Linked DNA regions of Homo sapiens: region 2 is linked to region 1. The links are contacts of gene promoters, found by promoter capture Hi-C in blood cells and fetal thymus (Javierre and others, 2016). All regions are on one chromosome and are shown on one strand. Each heading gives the region's core, a stretch centred on a gene start or on the middle of the fragment in contact. The rest is flanking DNA. Distances are from core to core; before and after follow the strand shown. Region 1 holds the start of ADRM1 (ADRM1 26S proteasome ubiquitin receptor). Region 2 overlaps CABLES2 (Cdk5 and Abl enzyme substrate 2).

Evidence for each region. The method cuts DNA at HindIII sites, captures the fragments that hold promoters and counts their contacts. A CHiCAGO score of 5 or more calls a contact.
Region 2: a contact is called between a fragment that was not itself captured here and the fragment with the promoter of ADRM1 in region 1, in 3 of 17 cell types (total B cells, endothelial precursors and naive B cells). The highest score is 6.7, in total B cells.

Annotation. Positions count from the first base shown.
Region 1 is chr20:62,301,369-62,305,114 of GRCh38, forward strand. It overlaps ADRM1 (ADRM1 26S proteasome ubiquitin receptor), which reads left to right and starts at 1,629. Exons shown (of 10, transcript NM_007002.4): 1 at 1,629-1,681; 2 at 2,200-2,413; 3 at 3,093-3,209. The coding sequence starts at 2,201. RefSeq lists silencers at 1,139-1,258, 1,279-1,738. The HindIII fragment of the contact is 19,122 bases long and covers 1-3,746 here.
Region 2 is chr20:62,391,470-62,395,355 of GRCh38, forward strand. It overlaps CABLES2 (Cdk5 and Abl enzyme substrate 2), which reads right to left. Exons shown (of 10, transcript NM_031215.3): 4 at 3,468-3,545; 5 at 2,688-2,796; 6 at 1,971-2,136; 7 at 1,451-1,554; 8 at 920-1,026. Among named protein-coding and RNA genes, the nearest start is that of RPS21, 6.3 kb to the left of the region's middle. RefSeq lists enhancers at 919-1,419, 1,420-1,920, 2,137-2,661. The HindIII fragment of the contact is 8,008 bases long and covers 1-3,886 here.

The sequences.
Region 1 (3,746 bases), core at 379-2,878:
ACACACACCTAAAGACCTCAGAGAGCACGTAAGCACACAGCTGTGCATCCACTCTGAGGGTGAGCCACCAAGCACACGGTGACCCCGGGGAGCGCCCGAAGGGAGTGAAGTATCTGAAGGAAAGAAGGAAGTGAGCGATGGGCAAAGGAGAACCTGAGGACCCTGGCACAGTCTCAGCTGCAAACATCTAGTCTTGCTTAACTGGGGTGCAGAGGCCACTGCACCTCAGGGTTCTCACGAAGCGCCTGACCTCTCTATTTTATTACTATTATTATTATTATTTTTTTTTTTTGAGAAGGAGTCTTCCTCTGTCGCCCAGGCTGGAGTGCAGTGGTGCAATCTCGGCTCACTGCAACCTCCACCTCCCGGGTTCAGGCGATTCTCGTGCATCAGCCTCCTGAGTAGATGGAATTACAGGCATGTGCCAGCATACCTGGCTAATTTTTGCATTTTTAGTAGAGTCGGGGTTTCATTCACCATGTTGCCCAGGCTGGTCTTGAACTCCTGGCCTCAAGTAATCCGCCCGCCTCGGCCTCCCAAAGTTCTGGGTTTACAGGCGTGAGCCACCGCGCCTGAGCCCTCTAAGAGCCCCCGCCTGGCGTCGCTGTAGGCAAATCCCAAAGAACGTGTCCCTTCAGCAGCCGGCTGGGGCGCCACAAACACTATCTGTTGTCTTCGCTTTAGTTTGTGTCAAAGTGACTCAAAGTTACACAACACTGGCGGGCGACTGCCGCCTTTTTACCCTGTGGCCTTTCCCATCCAGGCGTCCAGAGGGTGAGCCCCTGCCCTCCAGGACCCCTCCCTTCCAGGACCCTACCCGTCTGGGACTCAGGCCTTCCCTGACTCCTCCCTCCCGGACTCACCCCTCCCAGATCCCTCCCCTCCGGGACCCTCTCCCCTCCCGGGCCCCCTCCCCTCCGGGAACCCCTCCCCTCCCGGACTCACCCCTCCCAGATCCCTCCCCTCCAGGAGCCCCTCCCCTCTCGGGACCCCTCTCCTCCCGGACCCACCCCTTCCTGACCCCTGCCCTCCCGGACCCCTGCGGGACTAGATGTATACAGCTGAGACCATATCACGGTTCTCACCCTCGCTCTACCCTCCCGGACCCCTGCTCTCCCGGACGCGTGGACTCCAGCTCCCGCCTGGGTCCCCAAAGCGCTGAACCCATGGTCACTTCTATGCGTAGCCCTGGTGCCCGCCGCCCACAGCCGGACCGCACTCCTCGGCCTCCGCCTAACCCCTGGCTCAGCCACACGAGTGACAGCTCTGCCCGCCCGGGCGGGCGACGCCGAGGGGTGGGCTCGGCCCCACCTGAGCAGTTCCCCAGCGCCCCTCTGAAACCCGCCTGTGGTCCCTGGCGCCGCCTCTAGGGGCCGCCGCCGCTCCCCTATGACACAGCAACAATAGGGGCCGCTCTGGTCCAAGCGCCCTGCGGCCCGCGCTTCCGCCGGAAAAGAGCCGCCGGCGCGGGGGCGGACCGGGGAGGAGCGAGTGCGATGGACGGTCGCCCTCGCCAATCGTTGGCAGGTTAGAGCCGGCTGCGCGGCTTACGGGGCTCAATCGGCGGCGAGAGCGGCAGGCGGGGCGGGCCGAACGCGGGTTTCCGGCGGGGCCCGGCAGGCGCCGAGGAGGAAGAGCGAGCCCGGACGGCGCCTCTCGAACGAGTGTGGGCGCGAGGCAGGTGCGGGAGTCGCCGGGCCTGGGGCGGCCGGGGGCGACCGGAGGCGGGGGCAGGGGCTGCTGGACCAAGGATGGGGCGGGGGCAGCCAAGACGAGAAGGTGGCCGGCGCGGCGGGTGGGGCCTGCGGGGGCCGGGCCGGGCGGGGGTTCTGGGGTCTCGGGCGCCGCCCCGGTTCCGCCTGCGGCTCTGAACGTGGGGCTCGGCGGGAGCTCGGGCGGGTCTGCCCCGCGGAGCGGGTCGCCGGGGTGGCGCGTCGAGGCTGGTGCCCCGCGGAGACGGCGTCAAGCCTAGGGCCGGCCCCACTAGGCTTGGCGGGGCTGCCCCGGCCCAGCGCCGAGTGCGGGCGGTGCGATCGTCGTGAGCGGGGCAAACGCGGAAAGGCAGCCCGGCGTGTCTGAGTCTGCCTTAGGCAGCTCTGGGCGCAGGCCCCCTGCTCGCAAACACCCCAGGGGGCGGGAGCTTGCCGGACCGCAGGCGACAGTGACCGCCGCGTCTCAGCGTCCTCTCCGCGCTTTCAGGATGACGACCTCAGGCGCGCTCTTTCCAAGCCTGGTGCCAGGCTCTCGGGGCGCCTCCAACAAGTACTTGGTGGAGTTTCGGGCGGGAAAGATGTCCCTGAAGGGGACCACCGTGACTCCGGATAAGCGGAAAGGGCTGGTGTACATTCAGCAGACGGACGACTCGCTTATTCACTTCTGCTGGAAGGACAGGACGTCCGGGAACGTGGAAGACGTGAGTGTCCCTGAGCCGCAGCAGCAGGACAGGCGACTTCTCGGGCCCTCGGAGTCCTCGCTTTGGAGTTCGCGGTGGGGGCTTGGCCGCATCTGGGGACCGCTCGTGGGGCCGTCATCGACTGCCCTGCTGATGGGTCGTCCTGGTTTCCGCGGTGACAGGGGCATCTCGGCCACTGTGTATCTTGAACTGTCCGTGTGAGGTGCCTGGGTTGGAGGTGTGGCCCTGGAGAGCCCGGAGCTCTGTGCCTGGCCTTGAACTGTCCGTGTGAGGTGCCTGGGGTTGGAGGTGTGGCCCTGGAGAGCCTGGAGCTCTGTGCCTGGCGGCTTCACTCAGTCTTCTTTGTTTTTCAAACTCTTAGTTGTTCTTTGTTACATTTGAGAGCAGTTCAGCGTTGACTTTTTAACTACTCTGGGAATGTTGTTTCCAGCACGTCTCAGAAACCCCGTTGCCATCTGAAAGGCCCCTTTCCCTGCTCTCTCCCCCGGCCTTGCCTTTCATGGGCTGTCTCTGACCCTGGCTTCTCTGCCTTGTGGAGACCCTGCCAGCGAGGGGTCTGGCGGCTTAGCTGCCCCTTGCGCACCCCACCCGGTTAGACCCAGGGCTCAGTACGCTCTCCTGAGACTGGGCACAGTGATGCCATCTGCGCCACTGACTCTCTCTTCCCCTGGCTTGCCAGGACTTGATCATCTTCCCTGACGACTGTGAGTTCAAGCGGGTGCCGCAGTGCCCCAGCGGGAGGGTCTACGTGCTGAAGTTCAAGGCAGGGTCCAAGCGGCTTTTCTTCTGGATGCAGGTATGGGGCAGGCCTTGGGGTTGTGCCTTTTTGTTGCCCTGCGATTCGGTTAGGAACTTGCTTACAGTGTGGTGCAATTGGCTTTTATAAACCAGCAGGCGCCGGCCACACCCGGCCACACGGCCTGAGATGCCACCTCAGGGCTGCGGTGCATGCTACCTGGGGCCGAGGTCCTCTCCCAGAGTACGGAGGCTCCAGGCTGGGCTGCGGGCAACCGATTGCGGTGTGAAATTTCCAGGCAGACAGACATGCTGGCCCTGGTTCTAACGATGCCCAGTGCCCTCTCTCTGCCCCTTGCCGTGGGTCACTGAGGCCCCCACAGCAGAGGCAGAGGCCCCTGTGTGGCTTCCCTGCTGGTGCTCACAGAAACGAAGCATCCTGCTCACACTTTCCACAGTCCTGCCCCTTCCCTGGCAGTGTGTCCTGGAGGCCAGGGGTGTCAGTGCCCAGGGTTTCTCTTACCCACAGCTGCAGAGCGTCTTTTGGGTCTAGAGGCCGCTGCTCATTCTGCCATCTGTCAGTGACCATTGAGCTTGT
Region 2 (3,886 bases), core at 936-3,435, 91 kb after region 1:
AAGCCATGTCCCTGGGGGCTCTGGCTGGGGCTGAGGAGGCAGCCCCCTGCCACCACCAACCGAGGCTGGAGCGATGTAGCTTTGGGCCGCAAGAAACACCACCGCATCCTTCAGGGGATGGTACCCTCCGCCGTACCATGTATAACGCCCAGGGCAGGGCGCATGGGCAGGGACCGGCAGGCTGGGTTTTGGCTTCCCCCGTCCCGTGGGTGGGCACCCATGGCAGCTCCCACCTGTGCCTGGTGGGTGGAGCCACAGAGGACAGGCTCTGCTCTCGGTGGGGGGCAGTGGTCTCTGATGAGGGGTGGTTTTAGGAAGAGCCTTGAAGGGAGGTGCCAGGGTATTGAGTGAGCTGCCCTCTGGAACACTGGGGCAGAGGCCGGCAGGGCAGGCCCCCAGTACAGGGCCGTGGCCAGGAGCCCGACGTGAGCCCAGCAGTTCCGCCGCCTTCTGCTCGCTTTCCTCCGGTCATGGGTCATCAGCGTGGCACAATGTGAGAGCAGAGGCACACCTGGACGGCCTTGGCGAGCACCCAGCATGCCTGGATGGGGGCGCTTTGTGGGCCAGGGGAAGGGCCACGGAATCTACTCACAAAATAGCACACACTGGGAGGGGCCGGGCACAACAGAGGCCTTGTCCCACTCAAGTTTTAAAAAGATCCTGGGCTGCTGCGAGGGTCTGGCTGTGAGAGACCCAGTGGTGTGTGGGGGGATGCAGTGTGATGGGGCCACGGGGGGCCTGGCTTGGCGGGCGGTGGAGGTGGGGGAGCTGCTGCTGGGGGCCTGGTCGGATGGCGAGAGGGGGTTGGGGATGGGCAGCGGCTAGACTTGTCAAGCTGGAGAGAATCTACCAGAAACTGGAGAGGAGAGGCTGGCAGGGCCTCCCAGGACGATGAGATGGTCTGAGAGGGTGTCCTCACCTCCTGATTTTGCTCAGCGTCAGTTTGACATGGGGGAACTTCTCCCTGAAGGTCTCGTTCATGTCCTTTTTGAGGTCTGAGGGCTTCACGTATTCTATCACTGTGGTCTGCAACAGAGAGTGGGCAGGGTTGGGCCGGCCCCTCGCACAGTCCATGGGTCCTGCCTGCTGGGTACGATGGATTTCTCACTGTCCTGGGTTTGCAAACATGCATACGGTGTGGCTTGAGAGGCCCCGAATCTCTGAGAACAAAATGGCTCAAGAGAGAGAACTCCAGAGCCCATGCCTGCTTGGTGTGGGGAGAGCCAGGTTGCCAGGTGCCGAGGGCGGAAGGGCAAGGGTGGACCCCAGCTGGAGTGGCCAGCACTGCTCCCTGGCCTGCCCTGCACACCGCCACTGTCTGTGCTGCTGCGATCCGGGATGGGGGCACGTCACGCCCCTGGGGCAGCTTTGCCCACAGCCTGCCCCACACGCCCCGAGCCAGGACAGGTGTGCAGCTGCCTGCACCCAGGCCCTGGGAGAGGGCACTCACCATGTACGACGCAAAGATGAGGACACGTTTGTGCTTGCCGCAGGGCCACTGCGGGTCATCCAGGAGGTTGGGGTTGTACTCCAGGGTGTCCCCCACGTCACTCCCTGTAAGAGAGGCAACCCCTGACCCACCAGGAGTCTTGAGCAGTACCCATCTAGCCCCAAGGCCTGGCAGGCCAGCGCCATGGCGGGGCAAGGCCGAGCAGGGGAGGGGCTCTAGGCCATGGTTCTCTCCTGAAGGGCCCAGGGCTTAGGGCAAGAAAAGGATGTCCTGAGAGGAGGGGCCCTCCCTGGAGTCATCTGTGGGTGGATGCAGCTCCTCCCCACTGCCTGGCTCAGGCCAAGCCCAGGGATAGCGATTCAGTGTGGAGCTGTTCCTCTCCTGACCCTGTTCCCCAGGCTCCATCTGCACGGAGGGCTACAGATTGAAAGGGGCTTGCTGATGCTGCTGCAGTCCCTGGGCCGTGGTTAAGGCACGCGGGTCACCCTGTTCCAGGCCGTGGTTAAGGCACGTGGGCTACCTAGTTCTGTGCTGGCTGGTGCCGACTTGGTGGGGGCAGGTTTATGTCTTGACCCTGGCAGAGTCCGGGGGACACTGGGCCGAGGTGTGGGCAGCAGGCCATGGCTGTCACTCTTGTGTGTGACCAGGGCGTTGGTGGGATACAGGAACTTCGCATAAGACACGACCTGGAAAAGCAAATGCATCTGGCCTCAGCTCTGCCTCCCGGGACCAGAGGGCAAAGTGAGCTCCCGCTGCAGGAAGCCCAGACGCACATGCCAGGAGCCCTGCATGGAAAATGAAGGGAACAACTCAGATCAAGCCGTTGAGGCTGCGTCTGAGCTAGACGCTGCTCCTCACATAGCTAGAACATTCCGGAACACTACTGTGCTTTATCTGGGTTCTGTAGCCTGTAACGTTCTCCCTGCCTCTGAAGACTGCTGACCACCAGCACAGAGGCCAGAGGGTTGGCGAGCCCCACCCTGCAGCAGGGGGGTGTCCAGGAGCACCTGGCTGTGGGGCAGTGGCGCAGACCTCAGGCACGGCCAGGCGGGGGAGTCCGACGGGCTCCAGGGCCACGTTCTCAGGGCTGCACGGGCCCGCATCCACTCCACCCTTGCGTTTTACGTGGAGTGAAGCACAGCTTCACGTGTGCCTCGTGGGCACTGACGTGGGACTGCTCCCACCCGCCTGCCTGGCCCTGACGGCGCTGGGTGTCCACCAGCGAAGAGGCTCTTACCTTCCCGTCTGCTCCTAGCTCCACACCTTCTAGCTCAAAGACCATCTCGGAAGACACAGAGACGCCGCCGGACGGGTGCCTCTGCTTCTGGCTGTCCACCCTCAGGTCACTGCAAACATGGGAGAGGCAAGGGGCTGTGGTCTGCGCTGAACTCAGGCTCTGGCAGCCCAGCCCACCTGTCCGCTGGCCCGAGGTGCTCTCGGGAACAATGTCAGCACAGCCCCTCGGGAAAGAAAGGCGGCACTGGTGTGACCAGGAAGGCGCACGTCAGGAGTGCTTTCATGGAAGGAGGGGTTTTTGAGCCCCGCTTCCCCAGTACAGACACTGGCTGGTAGAGCCCCCGGGGTGGCGCCCACCTTCACTAGCCCACTAGGTACATGTGCCCACGCCTGGTCAGGTTTCTCCACCACTGTTTTTAAGCCAGGGCCACACATAATCCCCACCCCATAGCTGTTTCCTCCTTCCCTGAATTACGCACGGATACGACTGCCTGGATGGTCACAGCACCAAGTGGCTCTGTCCACAGGAGGTGGGACAGCCCAGCCACCTGTACATCGACAGCGTGAACAGAAACCGGCTCCTCTGGAGAGTGAGGACCCGAAACGGCCCCGGGTTCCTGAGGAGCTTTGCTGGAGGTTGACATGCTGAGCCTCGCATGAGCCCGGGGGCAGCCGCACCTGGGGGCGCAGTGCCCGCTGATGCCTCCTGGGCCTGGCCGAGACCAGGCCTTGCCTTCTGCCTAGATGGACACCGCATGCGAGGCAAGCGCTGAGTACTCACCTGATCCGCAGGCCTTCCCCATAGGGCAGGACCGAGAAGGCCGCGCACAGGGACCGCTTGGCACAGATGAGCACGATCCTGCAGGGGGACGGAGTCAGGGGAGACGGGGCCGGGGAGCGGGGCTCAAGGTACTGCTGCTTCCAGAGCTACAGACATTTCCATGGAAAATTCCTTCTGCCTAAATTCAGGTGCTGGGAAACTGCCCATGCTGTCCAAGGGGACTTGAGCCCAGGAGGCCGGGTGGCCACCGTCACTAAGCCTGGCCCCCGCAAGCTCTCAGAGTGGATTCCCTACAGGAGCTACCGGGGTTCCCCTCCCTGGGACGCCGCTGCACGTGGGCAGGCACAGCAGTGACATCCCGAAGGCTCCTTCCTGACCCAGTGCGGGTAGGGCTGGCGGCCTCACCTCAGGATCTTGGC